Regions from separate parts of the Homo sapiens genome. Here region 1 is linked to region 2. The links are contacts of gene promoters, found by promoter capture Hi-C in human tissues and cell types (Jung and others, 2019). All regions are on one chromosome and are shown on one strand. The core of a region is centred on a gene start or on the middle of the fragment in contact, and the rest is flanking DNA. Distances in the headings are between cores, read along the strand shown. Region 1 holds the start of WDR74 (WD repeat domain 74). Region 2 overlaps ASRGL1 (asparaginase and isoaspartyl peptidase 1).

Region 1 (5,780 bases), core at 3,180-5,679, 460 kb after region 2:
ACCTGCACCCTATAATTCCCACAGTGAAGGGGATCCACTCTCCTTTCCTCTCTTCCAGGTGGGAGGAAAACAGGCATAGTTCAGGAAACTCCACCCTAGAATACAGTAGAGGAAGGTCATGGGCTCAGGGACAGGGTTGGAACAGACGGGGAAGCGCTTGCTCCTCTGAACTCAGAATGGTGAGAAGAGCAGTTGTGTCAAACCGTGGGGGCCATTTCTCCAGGAGGCTGCTTTATCCCAGGAGAAGGCAGGTGTGAGGTGACACCTTACCTGGTGGTACCCTGTGCAGGTGACAAGCTTCTGTGATCCTGGGAGAAACTGTATGTCCTGGTCCCAGATGGGAACCCGCAAGTCCAGCCAGTCATTCCGCACCTGGTGGGGTGGGCAGATGGAGGACAGGGCTATGGGGGGCTCGATGTGCCCCTGTTTTCAGCCCTCCTTCGCCCCCTAAGTCCATCTAGTCTCTAATGCATCGTCAGTGGCCTCAGCCTCCCTCGACTTCAGGAACAGCTCCTTCACACTCTTGTCACTCACGTTCTTGGCCCTGAACACAGGTTCCTCAGAGCCCTGCAGGTCCCATATCTTCAAAGCATTCTCTTTCCCACCTGTGGCAACCACATGGGGGTGTGCTGGGTCTTGGCGCATCCTACACACCCCAGGGCCCACTCTCAGTTCCAGGAGCTGTAAAGAATAGGAGATAAGAGTCCGTTCCAGAGTCCTTAATCCTCCCTTCCCCAGCGTGATCATTAGGCACCTACCCCAGCCCACCTCCCCCAACCATCAGGGCAGGGGAGCCTCACTGGGTCAGAGGATGTGTCCTTGTCCTTGTCATGCCAGACTCTGAGAATCCCAGAATCCACACATGTGATGAGGGTGCTGCAGAGAAAGGATAGAGTTGGGATTTTTTAAGTGCTTAAACTCCTTGTTCTAATCTTTCTCTCCTCCTTACTACTACAGTTGACTAATGTTTAAAGAAAAAAAAAAGTATAAAAGTATTCTCTAGGCCCCAAACTCATATCAACCAGATTCCCTACTAACAGTCCAGTTTAGAAGGAAGCCTCTAGGTCACTGGGCTCTAGGCAGGGCTTGACAGCTTCCAGCTTCCTAATCTGTTAATTCAACTTTCTCAACAGGGTGAGGGTTTACCAAGTGAGGAAATAGAAGCGCTGAGAAACTAATTTGCCACTCAGCTATGTTACAACCACAGCTAGAAATCAACTCTGTGATATTCCAGAGTGCTTTTGCTGTTCACAGCTATGTCTAGCATCTGGCTGTACTGGTCTGTCTGAATCTTGAGTTGCTTACTAGGGCTGGTCTGAATTTAGGGCTTGGTCAAAGTCAAACACCAACTTCTTGGGTTCCTTGCTCTGAGTTTCAGGCACTAAATGTCAGTCTCTTGCTTAAAATATCCCTCCCGAGAAGTCCAAGCAAGTCTCTCCCCAGGATCTGCACAGCCTGCGCCTATGTTCTTTCTCACACCTGCCAACCCTCCCTAGCTGGGTTCGGGCTCTGTATCGACTTGCCTGACCTGTGGCAAAAGTCTCCCAGTTGCTGTCTCCAATCCATCCTCCATACTCCTACAGGCTCCCAGTGCTGACTATGGTACTTCCTATTCAAAAACTGATAACTTGGCCAGGCACAGTGGCTCACGCCTATAATCCCAGCACTTTGGGAGGCCAAGGCAGGCAGATCACCTGAGGTCAGGAGTTCCAGACCAGCCTGGCCAACATATAGTGAAATCTTGTCTCTACTAAAAAATACAAAAATTAGCTGGGTGTGGTGGTACATGCCTGTAGTCCTAGCTACTTGGGAAGTTGAGGCAGGAGAATCGCCTGAACCAGGGAGGTGGAGGTTGCAGTGAGCCGAGATCATGCCACTGCACTTCAGCCTCAGTGACAGAGCAAGACTCCGTCTCTCAGAAAAACAAAAACAATAAATGAATAACTCACCAACACCAATAAAAGTGCACATCTCTCAACCTAGCACTTAAAGCCCTTTACATTTAATCCCAACCTAATATAGTGTTCATCTTGTATTAAAATGCTTCCTTGGCCGGGTGCAGTGGTTCACGCCTGTAATCCCAGCATTTTGGGAGGCTGAGGTGGGCGGATTGCCTGAGGTCAGGAGTTCCAGACTAGCCTGGCCAACATAGTGAAACCCTGTCTCTAATAAAAATACAAAAAAAACTTAGCTGGGCGTGGTGGCGGATGCCTGTAATCCCAGCTACTCAGGAGGCTGAGGCAAGAGAATCGCTTGAGCCTGGGAGGCAGAAGTTGCAGTGAGCCGAGACTGTGCCACTGCACTCCAGCCTGGGCAACAGAGTGAGACTCCGTATATAAAAAAAAAACAAAAAACAAAAAAAAAAAAACGCTTCCTTGTTATCAACTTCCAAATCAAATGCTATTTATCCTATTTATGTACCCTGTAGCATGCCTCCAGTCCTTGGCCTCTCCCAGGCAGTACCCTCTTTCTAGAATACCCTTATCCCCTTCTCCACCAGTCAAAATTCTACCCATCCCTCAAGAACCAGTTCAGACATCCAGTCCCCCCCACAGGCTTTCCAGACCTCACCTGTCAGAATTACCACCACCAAACCTATGCAGCCTGCTTCACAGCCCTCTTTCATCATCTTTGGAAGAAAGCAAGGCCAGTCATCCAACCACTTAGCACCTTCCTAATCTTTGCTTTCAGAGCTACATCACCTTGTTGGTGGTTGAGCTCAAGTTGAGCCCAGGAGTTTGAGACTGGCCTGGGCACACAGTGAGACCCCATCTCTATAAAAAACTTAAAAATTTAGCTGGGCAGGGTGACACCTGCCTGTGGTCCCAGGTACTCAGGAGGTTGAGGCGGGAGGATCGTTTGACCCCGGGAGGTTGAGGCTGTAGTGAGCCATGAATGCACCACTGCACTCAAGCCTAGGTGACACAGTGAGGCTCTGTCTCAAAAAATATAAATGAATTAATAATGAATTAATGAATGCATGCTTAAAACTTTTTTTGTTGTTTTTTTTGAGATGGAGTCTTGCTCTGTTTCACAGACTGGAGTGCACTGGTGCGATCTCTGCTCACTGCAACCTCTGCGGGACGGATTCAAGCGATTCTCCAGCCTCGGCCTCCCAAGTAGCTGGGATTACAGGCATGAGCCACCACACCCGGATAATTTTTGTATTTTTTTAGTAGAGAAGGGGTTTTACCGTGCTGGCCAGGCTGGTCTTGAACTCCTGACCTCAAGTGATCCACCTATCTCGGCCTTCCAAAGTGCTGGGATGACAGGCATGAGCCACCACACCCAGCCTTGCTTAAAACTATTAAATGACAAGCAGGCACAGTGGCTCACGCCTGTAATCCCAGCACTTTGGGAGTCCGAGGCAGGTGGATCACCTGAGGTCAGGAGTTCGAGACCAGCCTAGCCAATACGGTGAAACCCCGTCTCTACTAAAGATACAAAAATAGCCGCGCGTGGTGGCAGACGCCTGTAATCCCAGGTACTTGGGAGGCTGAGGCAGGAGTATCGCTTGAACCCGGGAGGCGGAGGTTGCAGTGAGCCGAGATCGCGCCACTGCACTCCAGCCTGGGCAACAAGAGCGAAAACTCCGTCTCCAAAAAAAAAAAAAACAAAAAACAAACACACACACACACAAAACTATTAAATGACTTGCCCATGGTTACTTAGAGGATTATAATGGAGTCAGGTGAAAAACCTTAGAGGATGAGAACTTTTTGAAGGCAGAAATTTTACCGGCAGCCCCTGTACTTCTCCCAGTGCCTGGAATTCAGTAGGTGTTCAATAAATGTGTGTTACAGGTATGAACTACATAAGGCAGAAACCCAGGTCCCTGTCACCCATTCAAAGCCGTGTCACTAAGAGTTTGCCTGTCGCCATCATTCCAGTATCCTCAGGGAGCATCAACGCTCTCCCTTCGGCCCTGAGTTTAGCGAGGGGATTGGTCTTACCCGTCGGCCTGGGCGAGGCCACGGAACATGCCCTCCCCGCCCGGGCAGTGTCTCTGACCCTGGAATATGCCATCCTCGGTGCTGAAGTGCTTCACCGTCCTGTCCGCGCAGCCCACCAGCATCTGCGGCAAAGAAGGGCAAGATGGCGAGGAGAGCGAGGCTGCTGCGCCCCAGGCCCCCAGCTCCGGCCCGACCAGGGGCCACTCACCTGGGTCTCGCCGCCGGTGCCCCAACACAGGGCGCTCACTGCCTCCTCGCGCCGCGGCTGTCCTCCGGCCGTGAAGTTCGCCGCCTGTTTTCGCTGAAGATTTACCCCTGAGAGACGAAGGCGTCAGTCACGCCAGGGGCGCGAGTGCACCCCTGCACTTCCCGACGCCCGAGCCTGCCACCCACCTTTCAAGATCCCAGTCTCGGTGCCGACCCACACATGGTTCCAGCGTGCAGCAGCAGCCGCCATGACAAAGCCTGGAGGCAGACAGTTCACACTTCCGGCGCAGCGTGTGCGTCACCAGCGGGCGTCGAGTCCGATGCAGCGCAGTGTAGTTGCTGGAAGTTTGAAGAGCCGAAACAGTAAAGCTTCCATGCTTGTTTTGCTTTACGAAAATGAAACCAGGAGGTGCTTGTTTATGTAGATCGGAAGAATACATTGATCATTTTGCACTTGGGGGTGAAAAGCACCTTTCCTGGACTGCGTGGCCGGATCAAGCCAGCCCTAGTCTGTCTCCCGGCTCCATTATGTAATATGTGTTCTGGACTGTTAGACAAGAAACAACAAACGATTTAAGAAACGATTTAAGAAACACTTTAGAAACGATTCAAATCATTAATGATGTGTGGGGCTTCGTTCTGGAATATAAGTCACGAAAGAAAGATGGGAAAAGGAAACCGACGATTTTTTTTTTCTTTTGAGAGAACTTCGCCCTTGTTGCCCAGGCTGGAGTGCAATGGCGCGATCTCCTCTCACCTCAACCTCCGCCTCCCGGGTTCAAGCGATTCTTCTGCCTCAGCCTCCCAAGTAGCTGGGATTACAGCTGGTATTACTAAACCACCGCGCCCGGCCTCGTTTACTCTTCAAGAGGCGGACAGCGAGGCGCGGTGGCTCACGCCTGTAATCCCAGCACTTTGGGAGGCCGAGGCGGGCGGATCATGAGGTCAGGAGATCGAGACCATCTTGGCTAACACGGTGAATCCCCGTCTCTACTAAACATACAAAAACAAAACTAGCCGGGCGTGGTGGCGGGCGCCTGTAGTCCCAGCTACTCCGGAGGCTGAGGCAGGAGAATGGCGTGAACCCGGGAGGAGGAGCTTGCAGTGAGCCGAGATTGCGCCACTGCACTCCAGCCTGGGCGTCAGAGACTCCGTCTCAAAAAAAAAAAACAAAAACAACTAAAAGTACTCTGTGCTATGCTACATGAGAAACGCAGAGAAAGTCATCGCTCAGTAGAAATACAGTAATAGCGCATGCGTAAATAGGAGAGGGAAGTCGCTACTTTACCTAGAGATTAACACAGAAAAGCAACAAATTACCAGTTTACAAGTAAACCCTTTATCTAACGCGAAGATTTATTTATTTTTTGAGATGGAATCTTGCTCTGTCTCTCAGGCTAGAGCGCCCGCCACCAGGCCTGATTCACTTTTCTTTTGGTTTTTTAGTGAAGACGGGATTTTTCACACCATGTTAGTCAGGCTGGAATTACCCAATCCGCCCGCCCCAACCTCCCGAAGTGCTAGGATTTCACGCTTGAAACCCCGAGCGCGACCTAGGTTTAACACATCAAACGCGAAACCAGGCCGGGCGCGGTGGCTCACGCCTGTAATCCCACCACT
Region 2 (5,762 bases), core at 792-3,291:
GGCTCTACAGTGGCCACCCCTAAAAAGGATACCCTATTCCTTTTCTTTCTTGATTTCTCTCAGTCTCAAGTGGAACTTTAATGCCATTTTCATTTTTTCCTAGTCCCTTTCCTGGTATATATCCCATATTAGTCATGATTTTTTGACTCCTGAGGCTGTATAATGGAGCAGGCATAGTGATTTCTGCACCCCATTGTTGTAATAAATCTCAACCCCACAGATGAAGTAATCATTGGTTGAAGTAATCATTGAAGTAATCATTGGTTGAACAGTACTTTCTTGATTATCCGGCCCTAAACAATGTAATAGTACTTTGATACACTTCTGAGGAGTGCCTACGCCGACAAGTCCTGTAACAGCCTTTCATTTAGGCCAATTTTTTGGCCACTGGTTTAAAGCAATGATAGAGACATCTGCTCCAGTGTCTACCAACCCTTCAAACTGTTTTCCTTGAATAATGGCCTTACACACAGGTCTGCTCTCTGAGAACTGACTTGCCCAATATGCAGCCTTTCCTGCCGGATCAGTGCTTCCAAACCCTCCTTTCTATTTATCTCACTGTTTCCAACCTTAATATAAGGCAGGAGTAACAACTGAGCAATCCTGTCTCCTGGACTGGCACTGCAAGGAATTGAGGAGCTAATAACCAATTGAATTTCACCTTTGTAGTCTGAATCAACCACACCAGTATGAATTTGAACTCCCTTTAGATTTAGACTTGATCTTCCTAAGATTAGTCCTACAGTCCCCTCAGGCAGGGGGCCATATACCCCTGTGGGAATTTTTTGTGGGGGCTCCCCTGAAAGCAGAGAGACTGCTTGTATAGTACATAAATCTACTGCTACACTGCCGCTTGTGGCAGGGGACAATTGTTGTATTGTGGTAACTGGCTCATTCCCTGAGGCACTTGTGACAGTGGGGGTTGTTGTCCCTGAAAACCCTGAGGAACAAAGGGCTGAACTGGGAATGCCCCAGTTTGTTGCAGGGCCTGAGGCTGGCCCCTTTGCTGTTTCCTGACAATAGTTGCCCATTTCTATCAAATTTAGAATTTGATAGAATTCTAATAGTGTTTTTCTTTTTTACATCTTGGACATAAGTCGGGTGGCTCTTTATCTGTTGTTGTTGTAGTAGCTTGAATAGTTATATTTTGTTTTTTTGAGGCTGGGCAATTCTTTTTTAGATGACCAATTTGACCACAATTATAACATTTTCCCCCAAATGTTCTAACTTGTCCTCCTAAAGCAACTCCCATTATTGCTTGAGCCATAAGCATAGTTTTATGCATAGCTCCTCCAATTCCATCATAGGCTTTTACGTACTCTGAGATTACATCTGATCCTGTGGGAACCTTCCCTTTTAATGGCTTAGTGGCTGATTGACACTCAGGATTGGCGTTTCCATATGCCATCAACTCCACTATGACCTTACGGGCATTTTCATCGGTAATTGACTTTTGAGCAGCATCTCGGAGCCTTGCCACAAAATCAGGGTAGGGCTTTTTAGAGCCTTGTCTTATTGTATTGAATGAGGGGCAGGTGGTTCCTGGGTCTTGGATTTTTTTCCCAGGCCCTAAGGCAGATAGCTCTAACTTGCTCAATGGCCTCATTTTGCATTATTGCTTGTTGATTAGTAGTGCTCCAATTTTGACCTTTTCCTAATAGTTGATCTGCATCTATGTTAACTGGAGGATTGGCAGCCCTATTACTTCAGACCTGTTCTTGTGCCCCATCAATCCACCAACTCTTAAATTGTAAAAATTGAGACAGTGAGAGTGATGATTTGGCCAAAATCTCCCAATCATAAGGAATGAGTCTATGTCCATGAGCAGTGGAACCTAATAATGTTCTCATATAAGGGGAGTTGGGTCCATACTGTTTTACTCCCTCTTTCATATCTTTTAACATTTTTATAGAAAAGGACTCATATCTGGCCCCAACTAGGGTAGGCGCTCCTTCTTGGGCCCCTTCTCCAGGTGGCATCGGTACTGGGAATTGCCACGCCTCAATATCTCCTTGTTTCCTTGCCTTATCAATAATTTTATGTAATGCACTACCTTGTCCACTAGGTGGTGCTGTAGGATAAAGTCTTATAGTGGGCGGCTGAGGCTATAGCGCCCTGCCCTGTGGTGCTGGAAACACTCCTGGCTGTCCATACTGATTTTCTGGGGGCGGCCGATACTGAAGTTCGGCTGGCGGCCAGTATTGATAGGCTACTGGCGGTTGGGTCTTATTTTCTACCGGCTGATATTGTGGATACTGTATTTGGATTGGCGTTGCCATGACAGAGACTCTCTATTTGATATTCTCTTGGGGTTTGTACTTGTCTAACCTGCATTTGAGGTTGTAATGTTACAGGCATCTGAACCGCTGGAAGAGGAGTTGGCCATCATGGTTTAGACTCTGATGGCCCCGCTAATTCTGGACCTTTTTCTTCTAATTCTAATGCTTCAGGATATATTACCTCCTGTAATTGATTGTAGTCAACATTTTGCATTGACCGAGCCATTACAGACTCTGCTACATATTTACAATGTGAACTTTTGAACTTTCCATTCCTTTCTGGGATTCTATCCCTGCCTATTCTTCACAATCTATTACACAGCTTTCAGGGGCATCAGCAACTGAAACGCTATCTTCTCCTGTTTGAAACAGTTCTAAATTAGCTGCTTTAATAATGGCCCAATCATTCCATACGGTAAGTGGGATGATTTTACCCTTCCTACTTGCTTGTTTTAATTCTTTGCCAATTTTTTCCCAATCTTTTAGATCTAAAGTTCCCTGTTCTAGAAACCATGGGCAGAATTGTTCTACTGTTTGAAATAGCGTGATTAGATTTTTTTGTAGAGACTCTAACTCCCCCCTTTTTAAAAGAATTTTAATAAAGCTGAGATAAGAGGCATATTTACTTTCAGTTTGCCCCATTGTTACCCTAGGTTCTTCCGAGGGCACAAGCTTACCACAAGACTGACTGTAGACGTACTCGGGAATCTCTCATCAACTTGTTCTCAATGACCACGCTCTAGCTCACCTTCACCCTAGAGAAAAGCACCCACGTTGGGCACCAGATGAAGGGGTGGCCAGCCCCTCTACACCTGTGGGCGTTTCTCATCAGGTGGGACGAGAGACTGAGAAAAGAAATAAGAGGCTGGGTGCGGTGGGTCACGCCTGTAATCCCCGCACTTTGGGAGGCCGAGGCCGGTGGATCACGAGGTCAGGAGATCGAGACCATCCTGGCTAACAGGGTGAAACCCCATCTCTACTAAAAATACAAAAAATTAGCCGGGCCCAGTGGCGGGTGCCTGTAGTCCCAGCTACTCAGGAGGCTGAGGCAGGAGAGACAGAGACAACGTATAGAGAAAAAAAAGTGGGCCCAGGGGACCGGTGCTCAGCATACGGAGGACCCCCACCGGCAACAGTCTCTGAGTTCCCTCAGTATTTACTGATCATTATCTCTACCATCTGGAGAGGGGGATGTGGCAGGACAATAAGTTAATAGAGAGGAGAGGGTCAGCAGGAAAACATGTGAACAAATGTCTCTGTGTCATAAATAAGGAAAGGTGCTATGCCTTGATGTGCATGTATACAAACATTAAAGAGCAGTATTGTCGCTAGCACCTCTCACCTCCAGCCCTAAGGCTGTTTTCTCCTATCTCAGTAAATAGAACATACAATCGGGTTTTAAACCCAGACATTCTATTGCCCAGGGACAAGCAGGAGACAGATGCCTTCCTCTTATCACAACTGCAAAGAGGCCTTCCTCTTTTACTAATGCTCCTCAGCACAGACCCTTTACGGGTGGGGTGTCGGGCTGGGGGACAGTGTCGGGCTGGGGGACGGTCAGGTCTTTCCCTTCCCACAAGGCCATATCTCAGGCTATCACATGGGGAGAAACCTTGGACAATACCTGGCTTTCCTAGGCAGAGGTCCCTGCAGCCTTCCGCAGTGTATTGTGTCCCTGGGTACTTGAAATTAGAGAATGGTAATGACTTTTAACAAGCATACTGCCTTCAAGCACTTTTTTAACAAAGCACAGCCTGCATAGCCCTAAATCCATTAAACCTTGAGTCAACACAGCACGTCTCTGCGACACAGGGTTGGGGTAGGGTTACAGATTAACAGCATCTCAAGGCAGAAGAATTTTTCTTAGTACAGAACAAAATAGAGTCTCTTATGTCTACTTCTTTCTACATAGACACAGTAACAGCCTGATCTCTTTCGTTTCCCCACAAATCCATATAGTATTTGAGTGTGATAATGTAAAAATCAGTATTCATTTCTAAATCTAAGTACTGCTTTGAGAATTTTGTTGGTAATTCCAGTTGCTGCTGCTTCAGCAGAAGGAAGCTTCTCCAAATTAAAATAAATTAAAAACTTGCTAAAAACTATGTTGACTCAAGAAAGCTTGTCTTTTGCCATTTTGTCAATAGAAGTCACGTTAAGTATAAGAACATCATCAGGGGCCGGGCGCGGTGGCTCACGCATGTAATCCCAGCACTTTGGGAGGCCGAGGCGGGCGGATCACGAGGTCAGGAGATCGAGACCATCCCGGCTAAAACGGTGAAACCCCGTCTCTACTAACAATACAAAAAATTAGCCGGGCGTAGTGGCGGGCGCCTGTAGTCCCAGCTACTCGGGAGGCTGAGGCAGGAGAATGGCGTGAACCCAGGAGGCGGAGCTTGCAGTGAGCCGAGATCCCGCCACTGCACTCCAGCCTGGGCGACAGAGCGAGACTCCTACTCAAAAAAAAAAAAAAAAAAAAAAAAAAGAACATCATCAGGCCAGGCTTGGTGGCTCACGCCTGTAATCCCAGCACTTTGGGAGGCCAAGGTGGGTGGACTGCCTGAGCTCAGGAGTTCATGACCAGCCTGGGCAACATGGTGAAACCCCATCTCTACTAAAAAATACAAAAAATTAGCCAGGCTTGGCAGTGTGCACCTGTAGTCCCAGCTTCTCAGGAGGCTGAGGCAGGAGAACTGCTAGAACCCAGTTGCAGTGAGCCGAAATCACACCACTGCACTCCAGCCTGGGCGACAGGGCAAGAGTTGGTCTCAAAAAAAAAAAAAAAATCAGTACTCCCTGGAATGAAGCCAAGAAAAAATATTTTAATGGAATAAATACATAACTTATTAAATGCATCTGTGTGTGTGCATGTGTGTGTGTGCACGTGTGTGCGTGTGTGTGTGTGTGTGTTTGCCATTCATCTGCCATCACCAGCCGATTAACAAATGACCCTGGTATGCACAATAATAACTAAGTTAAGTCATCATTGGTAGTTTGTCAGCTTGCAGTGAGCCAAGATCACACCCCTGCACTCCAGCCTGGGCAACAGTGCAAGACTCCGTCTCAAAAACAAAAAAAAGTCCGGGCGCAGTGGCTCACACCTTTAATCCCAGCACTTTGGGAGGCCAAGGCAGGCAGATCATGAGGTCAGGAGTTCAAGACCAGCCTGGCCAAGATGGTGAAACTTCATCTCTACTAAGAATACAGAAAAATTAGCTGGGTGTGGTGGTACACGCCTGTAATCTCAGCTGTTTGGGAGGCTGAAGCAGAGAATTCCTTAAACCCGGGAGGCAGAGGCTGCTGTGAGCTGAGATGGCGCCACTGCATTTCAGCTTGGGCAAAAGAGCAAGACTCCATCTCAAAAAAATTTAAAAAGTAGATTTTAGGTACTCTTACCACAAAAAAATAAAGAAAGGTAATTGTGAGATGATAGGTATGTTATTCTAGTTGACTGTAATCATAATTTCACTATGTATATCAAAA

The links. Contacts are between HindIII fragments. The study calls those that stand out against the background at their distance.
Region 1: a contact is called between the fragment with the promoter of WDR74 here and a fragment that was not itself captured in region 2, in 1 of the 25 tissues and cell types used here (IMR-90 fibroblasts).

The regions. Positions count from the first base shown.
Region 1 is chr11:62,835,161-62,840,940 of GRCh38, forward strand. WDR74 (WD repeat domain 74) reads right to left here and starts at 4,430. Exons shown (of 11, transcript NM_001369450.1): 1 at 4,347-4,430; 2 at 4,162-4,268; 3 at 3,954-4,075; 4 at 801-876; 5 at 535-681; 6 at 271-372. The coding sequence starts at 4,410. RefSeq lists enhancers at 3,854-3,983, 4,094-4,213, 4,274-4,613, 4,684-4,823, 5,454-5,623 and a silencer at 5,754-5,780. The HindIII fragment of the contact is 7,487 bases long and covers 2,414-5,780 here.
Region 2 is chr11:62,378,865-62,384,626 of GRCh38, forward strand. All of the region lies in intron 4 of ASRGL1 (asparaginase and isoaspartyl peptidase 1), which reads left to right. Among named protein-coding and RNA genes, the nearest start is that of SCGB1A1, 37 kb to the right of the region's middle. RefSeq lists enhancers at 3,281-3,846, 3,847-4,412. The HindIII fragment of the contact is 3,212 bases long and covers 436-3,647 here.